Linked DNA regions of Homo sapiens: region 1 is linked to region 2. The links are contacts of gene promoters, found by promoter capture Hi-C in blood cells and fetal thymus (Javierre and others, 2016). All regions are on one chromosome and are shown on one strand. The core of a region is centred on a gene start or on the middle of the fragment in contact, and the rest is flanking DNA. Distances in the headings are between cores, read along the strand shown.

Region 1 (4,487 bases), core at 1,908-4,407, 320 kb after region 2:
GAGGCCAGATTCTCTCTGGGTGCTGTTTAGAATCAGCTGTACTATCTCAGTCTAAAAGATAAGCAATGATGCCGGGCGCGGTGGCTCACTCCTGTAATCCCAGTACTTTGAGAGGCCACGGCAGGCGGATCACTTGAGTCCAGGAGTTCAAGACCAGCCTGGCCAACATGGTGAAACCCTATCTCTACTAAAAATACAAAAAGTGGCCAGGCATGGAGGTGCGCACCTGTAATCCTGGTTATTTGGAAGACTGAGGCATGAGAATCGCTTGAACCCAGTAGGTGGAGGTTGCAGTGAGCTGAGATCCTGCCACTGCACTCCAGCCTGGGTGACCAGAGCAAGACTGTCTCAAAAAAAAAGACGAGCAATGACCTTCAATGGCCTATAACAAAAAGGAAGGGGGCGGGTGGCAGTAACATTCTGCTCAGGAGTTAGCACTTTCAGGGTTAACCTGGGGATAGCCTGGCTCTCCAGCAGTGGGAAGAGGGTGACTTCCTCCCCCACAGGTTTGTAAAGGCTTACTCTTCCCTTTGCAGAGACAGAAGGGAGAAAATGCATAGACAACACTTCAGTGACTCACTCATGTTTGATGAAAGCTGGGAGGAGGCCTGGAGAATCCAAGCTACAAGCACAAAACGTACAAATACTGGAATCTCCCATCAAGAGAAGGAAATTTAGCCACCTATCTGGTTTGTCATTTTGCTGAACTTCCACTGAAGGAGGAAGGGCCAGCTTTAAACTCCACCCACCCTTTCCACATCCTTCTCAATTTTTGCTTTGATGGGAAAGTGGGGAAACTGGCGGCCCCACCATGGCTAAAAGAGAATCAAATCCTTTCTATACTTCCTCTCAAAGCAGAGGCCTAGTAGCTCCAGTCCACAGCTTAACCAAGCAGAGGGAATAGGGGCTTGTCCTGGTTACTGTAGGAAAGCCTCATCAGGCAGTCTCAGGGAAGGAAGATGACCACCCTCCTCACCCTTTCCATCTGCTGAGGTTACTTCATTCCAATCCATTAATGGGCTTCAAAGTGCTGCTGGGGGGAGTCCATTTAGCAGAGAAGCTATCACGGGGCCAAAGGTGGCGCCCACCCCCTACCCCATTTGTCGATAATGGGCCACAAAGTCTGAGGCTTGGCTGCACTCTAGACATAAAATATTCATTCAAGTCGACATAATACATAAGTAGGAACCTCATGGAAGCTCCTGGGAGAAGAGAAATGCCAGCCAGGTGGCTAAGTGCTCAATGGGAAAGAGTTCATGAAGGCCTGGGTTAGTCCTGATCAAATGCCCACTGAGAATTGGGTTGTTCTGTCCAAAGGGGAAACAATCTAGTCTGAGAAGTTCTGACTCCCAAAAGCTCGAACCCTGCAAACCTCTTAGGCAAGCAAAGTCTCAATCTTTTCCTACCTCATAGGCACCAACTCTGCTTAGGACATTTATGCTGAGAAAAATCTCCAGCCCAAACTTTGGTTGGTCTGAAAGATTAAGTTATCCTTGTGCAAACTTTATTTTAATCTGCAGCAGGCCGAGTTTCAACAACTGTCTTATATCCATCTGTTTAGCTACTTTCCGAAGTCCATAAATTGGAGAAAAGTAATTTTTTTTTTCTGAGATAGTGTCTTGCTCTGTCACCCAGGCTGAAGTGCAGTGGCACAAACACAGCTCAATGCAGTCTCGACCTCCCCAGCTCAAGCCATCCTCCTGCCTCAGCCTTCTGTGTAGCTGCAACCACAGGCATGTGCCACCATGCCCAGCTAAATTTAAAAAAATTTTTTTGTAGAGATGGAGTCTCACTTTATTGATCAGGCTGGTCTTGAACTCCTGGCCTCAAGCAATCCTCCTGCCTTGGCTTCCCAAAGTGCTAGGACTACAGGCATGAGCCATGGTGCCTGACCAGAGAGAAATTATTCTAATTTACTAGGTACAGTTACTTTTCAGATTCAAAGGTTACGAACTCCAAGGACTCCCAAAGCCCTTGCTCTAACAACACTTCCTTCCTGATCTCTAGGGCCAAGCCGAAAGTGACACTATTTGGTCTGACATTCACCCACATTCCTGACCAGAAGGCAGCACCACCAAGGACCCCCTGGCCAGAATCAAAGGACAGAGTGAGAATTAGCACCAGGGCACACTGCTGCACAGCTCAGAGTGTGGACTGAGATGCTAGCTAGCCGATCCAATCTACCTAAGTTACACCAAAAGCAAAAAAAAAATATTTATCCAGCAGATCACCTGAGGTCAGGAGATCGAGACCAGCTTGGCCAATATGGCAAAACCCCGTCTCTACTAAAAATACAAAAATTAGCCAGCATGGTGGTGGGCGCCTGTAGTCCCAGCTACTCCCAGGAGGCTGAGGCAGGAGAATCGCTTGACCCGGGAGGCGGAGGTTGCAGTGAGCCGAGATCGCATCGCTACACTCCAGCCTGGGCGACAGAGCAAGACTCTGTGTCAAAAAAAAAAAGAGTTTTATATATATATATATTTTTATCCAGAATCAACAATGGGGGTCCAGTGAGAGTGTTTGGAGTAGTTCAGCTGTTCCTTATAGGATCTTGTAACTTTGTTTTCTTCACCAGTACTTCTAAACTCCCCTTCCTAGAACTGAGAGAATAAACAATGCCGCTCACTGCCTAGAAGCCTGACAGCAGCCCCCTCCCTTCCCACTGCAGCAGAAGTGGGGCAAGTTTTCTCTCAATCCCTCTCTCATAGTTTCTGAGGCCCAGAGGTGGGGCAGGTCCCAGATGGAGTAGCCTCTCCCCCAGGTGTTATGGAAAACTCTAGCAGGTGAACTCTGGAAGCTGGACCTTTCTCCAGGCTTGCCTGTGACTGCTGCTGCTGGCTGGAAGACAAACAGTCATCTTGCTGATTGCTTTCACAACTGCCAAGCTTCAGGCCAGCAGAGTCATTTGGAAAAGAAGTGAACAAAAAGCTCAGCTCACAAACTAAGAATCCCCCAAGCTACGAGCCCCAGATTAGAACCCTCCTTCTGCAAAAGCAGGAAGTCTATGGCTGTGAAAAAGCACATCTGGAATCAGGTGTCACAAAAACCATCTTAAAGACAGGGCTTAACTTTTTTTTTTTTTTAATCTCCTACTTTCACTGTTATAAGCGAAGTGGACAGCACACAGGCAATCTCCCTGTAACGCAAGGTTTATTTTTATGCTTCAACATTTTCAGTGTCTGTGTGTTTCAGAGTGATTAAAGGGCTCCTGGAAACAGGTTCTCATCAGCCACATTTTTAAAGAAGAGGGAGAGGAAGAGCAAGAAAAGAGACTGGAGACAACCAGTGGTGTTTGTTTACCTATTTTCTGGTAAAACCAGTTTTAAATTTAAATAAGGTGACAGAGGACCTTTAGGGGAGGAAATCAGCCCAACTAAATCCCCTTTTTAAAAAAAATAACATTAAGACTATAGTAATGACCAAGCTTCCATGACTACTTTATCTAAAATCACAACAGGACCAAGAAGAGGTTTCTTTCACTTGGTGGCATGATCTATTCTCGGAGGCCAGTGTTTGATATACCTGGCCTTGTGACCTGAGGAGCTGCTGCTTGTCTTTTTTCCCGTTTTAAAGAATACAGGAATCAGGCCCGGCGCAGTGGCTCACACCTGTAATCCCAGCACTTTGGGAGGCCGGATCACGAGGACAGGAGACTGAGACCATCCTGGACAACATGGTGAAACGCTGTCTCTACTAAAATCCAAAAAATTAGCCGGGCGTGGCGGTGTGTGCCTGTAGTCCCAGCTACTCAGGAGGCTGAGGCAGGGGAATCGCTTGAACCCAGGAGGCGGAGATTGCAGTGAGCCAAGATTGTGCCACTGCACTCCAGCCTGGCGACAGAACGAGACTCTATCTCAAAAAAAAAAAAAAAAAAGAATACAGGAATCTGTCTGGAATAGGTGCATCCAAGGTTTTCCAAAGTCCCTGCTTTTACTGGAATGAGACTTAATATTAAATCGATACAGTGACTGGCTACCCTGAGAACAACAGTAGAAGGTATGAAGGGGCTAAGGAGAATCTAAGTCCATAAAGAGTAGAAATAGGATGGGTAATTAATAATCCTAACAGGATGACAATGTATGCAGCTACTGCTCTGGGCAAAGTTATCAAAGAGCAAAGAGCTTACTTACATTCCCAAATGGTCACTGATTGCTGCTATCATGGAATCAGTGGATGCACACTACGGTGGAATTCCTACTATATGCTCAGCAGTATGCTAGGCATGTAAGGAAGAAAGGAAATCAACACACACATCACAGGAAAAATACCATGGCAATAATACATTTACATGTAGTAAGCAGCACAAAGAAACCACACTGAGGCAGTCTGTTACTCTGCTCTGCTGAACACAATGCCCCCCACCAGCCTCACTGAGAGTAGGCACTCCATCGCCACTCCCCAAATGCCTGAGGGTGCCAGTCAGTCACTTGGCCTCCTCCTACCAGCTCACGATCAACAGTCTGGGAAAGTTCTCTGGTTAAGCAGGG
Region 2 (4,673 bases), core at 478-2,977:
TCTGGAGTCCAAGGGTGAGCCCGTGTCACCATCCCAGTGGTTCCATCTGCATCCATGGCAGGTCAGGGATCCTCGTACGGCCATCCATGGTTATTGCCACACTCAGAGTCAGAGGCCTGGAGCACAGGAGCAGGTTTGCAACCAGCCAGACTCTCTTATTCCTAGCTGACAGCTCAAGAAGTTTGAGTCTTAAGGGGCTAGGGTACCCTAGGGCAGCAACACTAGTACTAGAACCTTCTCTGAAACCCTGGCTCGTTCCTCCCTCGTATTAAAATATATTCATTATTATTATTACTTTTGAGATAGGGTCTCACTGTGTCGTCCAGGCTGTAGTGCAGTGGTGCCATCATGGCTCTCTGTAGCCTTGAACCCTTGGGCTCAAGTGTTTGCCTGCCTCAGCCTCTGGAGTAGCTGGGACTAGAGGTGAGTGTCTACCACCATACCAGGGTAATTTTTTTGTGTGGGGGCGGGTAGAGATGAGGGGGTCTCACTATATTGCCCAGGCTGGTCTTGAACTCCTGGCCTCTAATAATCCTCTTGCCTCAGCCTCCCAAAGTGCTGGGATTACAGGTGTGAGCACTTATTCATTATTCATTATTACATTCATTATATTATTATAATGGCCCGGCCTGTATTCATTATATTTATCATAAAGTAATATTAATAGTACATAAAAATATATAAAAGTACTTAAAAATCCATCCTCGTGTTTTTTGTTTTGTTTTCTTTGAGACAGAGTCTCGTTCTGTCACCCAGGCTGGAGTGCAATGGCACGATCTCGGCTCACCGCAACCTCCGCCTTCCGGGTTCAAGTGATTCTCCTGCCTCAGCCTCCCGAGTAGCTGTAATTAACAGGCATGCACCACCACGCCTGCATAATTTTTGTATTTTTAGTAGAGACGGGGTTTCGCCATGTTGGCCAGGCAGGCCTCGAACTCCTGACCTCGTGATCCACCCAACTCGGCCTACCAAAGTGCTGGGATTACAGGCGTGAGCCACCGCGCCCGGCCGGTTTTTGTTTAAAAAAGAAAAGAAAAAAAAAAAAAAACACACAGACACACACAAAAACATCACCCCAATCCTTCCACCCTTGAACGCCACTTGAAGCCTAAGTTTCCTGCCTCCAAATTCCACTATTTCCACCCTCGACTCTCCTCCCCAGCTGTCCTAGATTCTGCTCCAGCTGAGCCTTGGCCCCGGGGCTGTTAGAAGGCAGAGGCTCTGGGGAGAAGTCCCCAAACCGGATTTACCCGTTCGTCGCACCTGTCCCTAGGAGGGCAGGCTGGGGTGTGGAGGCGGTGCCCTGCTGACCCGCGGGGAGAGAAGCCCGGGTCTCCCAGGCTGCAAAACGCTCGGCACTGCGGAAGCCGCGCCAGGCTCTCCCAGCTCGATACGCAGCGGCCGGCGCGCCTGCTCCGCCGCGGGGCCGAGCGGCAGAGGGGCCCGGGGCTGCGTGGAAGGCCCGGGGGCTTCAGCCCGTGCCGGGGAAGCCGACGCTCAGCCAACCAGAAAGTTAGAGGCGGCCGAGGTCTCGCGGAGGGGAGGCGCCTGGCGGCCACGGGAGAAGTCGAAGGGCTCAGGCGGGGCTCCATCCGCGACACTGGGAGCCCGGGCGGGCGCGCACGTGTGTATACGAGTGCGTGGGCCCATCCGGCGGCCCGGACTACAAGTTCCAGGGTGCCCAGCGGCGCTCCCGGGTTTTCTGGCCGCGCCTCCCGCTGGCTCCGAGCAGGTCGCCGCTGGCTGGCAGTCGCCACCCGGTCCCAGAGTAAATAAGGGAGAGACACTCCCGAGCGCCGTAAATAGAGTCCAAGTGGGCGGAGAGCCGTCCCGCGCCGCCCGCTCATGTCTCTACAGAGCCGACTGTCCGGCCGCCTGGCACAGCTGCGCGCGGCGGGGCAGCTGCTCGTCCCCCCGCGCCCCCGGCCCGGACACTTGGCGGGTGCCACGAGGACCCGCAGCAGCACGTGCGGTCCCCCGGCGTTCCTGGGCGTGTTCGGCCGCCGTGCGCGGACCTCGGCGGGAGTTGGGGCGTGGGGGGCGGCGGCGGTGGGGCGGACAGCCGGGGTGCGCACTTGGGCCCCCCTGGCCATGGCGGCGAAGGTGGACCTGAGCACCTCCACCGACTGGAAGGAGGCGAAATGTAAGTGTAAGCACGAGGGGGCGCGAGGGAGAGGGCGGCCTCACGTGGAGCTTCCCGGCTGGGCGGCCCCCAACGAGCGAGCAGCCCCTTCCACCCGAGAGACCTGGGGAAGTTGAGGCCCCATCTGCCCTGGAACGGACCCCTCCTCCCCATTGACAGCCCCCCCCGCCCCCGCGCGTGTTCCCAGCCCCACAGAACAATTCACTCCAGACCAGGTCCAAGTGTCCACGCAGGGGGCAGCGTGAGGAAGGCGGCCTTCCTTACCCCATTGGAATGGGTCACAGGGCACCCCAGAGATTGTGCAGGACCTACCAACTTCCTTCCCTGTGCAGGAGGGAAACTGAGGCCGAGTGCCACAGCTGGCTTCCCCAAGGTCACTCGGAGCTGGTGGCAAAGTGGAGGTTATGATCCCGGACTCTCCAAACTTTGCACAGTGTGGTTCTTAAGTGTTCGGGAATGGGGCTGAGGGAACAGCTCCGGGGCTGGCGTCCCACCTGGTGGGGCACGTAACCTCACAGAGTGACCTTCCTGGGCTGGCCTGTCCTGCCTCCACCCCACCCCAAGCCCGCACTCTGATGCCTTCCTGGGCACGTGGTCTGGCGCCCTTTTCCCCTTCTCGCTGGCCTCTGGCCACTTGTGAGCAGTTTGCTCATGCCAGGAACAGAGGTTAGAGGAGCAGGGCAGAGGTGGGGTCTTGTCCCTGTGACAACTGATGACACCCTTCAAGAATCACACCACTTCCTCTTGCTCCTGGAGGGGGCATGAGTCTGGGGCCTGGGGAGAGAGAGAACCCAAGCTGCCGCTACTGAGCCCCAAATAGCCCTGCCGGGCACCCAGCTGCCCCTGCCTTTCAGGGCCTGCCTCCTGGGATCCTGTGACTCTTCCCGGCTGGATCCCCTTTCAAAAGTGCAGGGAAGTGGCTAATTGGCTGGGCCTCCGTGGTGGAGTAGGTGTGGCCTCTGGGCTGGGCAGGCAGGATGGGGGGGTCCTGCGGTGTTAGGGGTGAAGAGAAGATGGCTTTCTCGGGACCAGAGGTGGAAATCAAAATGATTTACTCCTGACATGAATTGTGTGGCCTGCGCCAGGATCTAAAAGTGACGGCAGAAAGCACCGACTTTAGCCCGTGAGCAGATGGAGAACTTGTCAGGCACTTGGCCCTTGCCCCAGAACAGCAGGAGGAGTTTGGGGCTGGCAGAGACCCCTGGAGGGGGAGCCACTGTCCCCACAGAGACCCCTGCTCCCCTGAGCACTCTCTCAGAGGACAACAACCCAGGAGGGTGGGAAAGAGCTACGGAGACAAGGTGCCCAGGCACCTGCTCGAGGGCTGCCGCTGTTTTTAGGATCCAGCCCCCACAGCCCCACTCCTTGGTGCCAGGAAAGCAACCGGACCTTGTGATGGGGCTGGGGTTCCTGGGCTGCTGTGTTGTCACTGGGGTCTCCCTTTTGCTTCGAGGTGGGATTTCCAATCATGCAGCAAACTTTTATTGAACGCCCCCTAGGTGGTCAGGCTGGGGACTCAGACATGTGTCAGATAGGCAAGGGCCCTGCCCTCATGGAGCTTGTAATCTGGTGTGAGGATTACAAAGCATCTATTGTAAAGAATGTGTTCTAGCAGCTGAGACAAGGCCCGGTAACCTCAGTGCTGTGAAGACACCATAGCAGATGGGGCCACCTGAGCTGGGGAGATCAGAGGAGGCGTCTCAGGGGTGGTGGCCTGAGAAGAGGCATCCAGCTGGGTAATGATATTCCAGACCCGTTATTGAGTGACAGTGGGCCAGGCCCAAGGAGTGGGGCTGGTCTGGGGCTCTGCCTGCTACTGAAGCCACAGTTAGAGGGACGCTTTCGGGGGTGAGATGTGGAGATCCCCCAATAGTTATCTATTTCTGTGTAACAAAACACCCCGAACCTTAGTGGCGTAAAACAGCAAACCTGCATTCTCTCCATCTCTTGAGGGTCAGGAAACTGAGAGAAGCTTAGCTGGGTGGTTCTAGCTCAGGGTCTCCCTCCCTCTGAGGCCGGGTGGGACTTGGTTAGGGCTGGAGGATGGGCTTCCTAAACAGCTCCCTCCCATAAAATGGCATTTGGTGAGAGGCCTCGGTTGGTCACTTTGGGGCCTCTCCATGGGGCTGCTTGAGTGCCTCACATGGGATAGATGTCCTAAGCTTTTCCCCCAGAGCATATGCTCCACGAGAGGGATCGTGAGGAGACCCCGATGGAGCTGCAGTGCCTTCTTTGTGACCTCGTCTTCGAAGTCTCTCCTGCTTTATTCTAGGGGTCAGAATCGAGTCAGGGAGTCTGGCCATACTCCAGGAGAGGGAAATTAGGCTCTACCTCTTGAAAGAAAGAATCTCAAAGAATTTGAAGGTGTGTTTTTATTTTCTTAAAAAAATTTTTTTTTGAGACAGTTTCACTCTTTTTGTCCAGGCTGGAGTGCAGTGGTGTGATGTCACTGCAACCTCTGCTTCCCGGGTTCAAGTGATTCTCCTGCCTCAGCCTCCTGAGTAGCTGGGATTACAGGCACCCACCACTA

The links. Contacts are between HindIII fragments. The CHiCAGO score rates a contact against its expected background, and 5 or more counts as called.
Region 1: a fragment that was not itself captured here is called in contact with the fragment with the promoter of MACROD1 in region 2 in 1 of 17 cell types (naive B cells); the score reaches 5.5 in naive B cells.

Annotation. Positions count from the first base shown.
Region 1 is chr11:63,841,605-63,846,091 of GRCh38, reverse strand. All of the region lies in intron 1 of MARK2 (microtubule affinity regulating kinase 2), which reads right to left. Among named protein-coding and RNA genes, the nearest start is that of MARK2, 4.7 kb to the right of the region's middle. The HindIII fragment of the contact is 539 bases long and covers 2,888-3,426 here.
Region 2 is chr11:64,163,167-64,167,839 of GRCh38, reverse strand. MACROD1 (mono-ADP ribosylhydrolase 1) reads left to right here and starts at 1,727. Exons shown (of 11, transcript NM_014067.4): 1 at 1,727-2,143. The coding sequence starts at 1,846. LOC105369339 (a long non-coding RNA gene) reads right to left here and starts at 1,602. Exons shown (of 3, transcript XR_950187.3): 1 at 1,251-1,602. RefSeq lists silencers at 1,341-1,600, 1,861-1,940, 2,071-2,170 and an enhancer at 1,708-2,208. The HindIII fragment of the contact is 18,296 bases long and covers 1-4,117 here.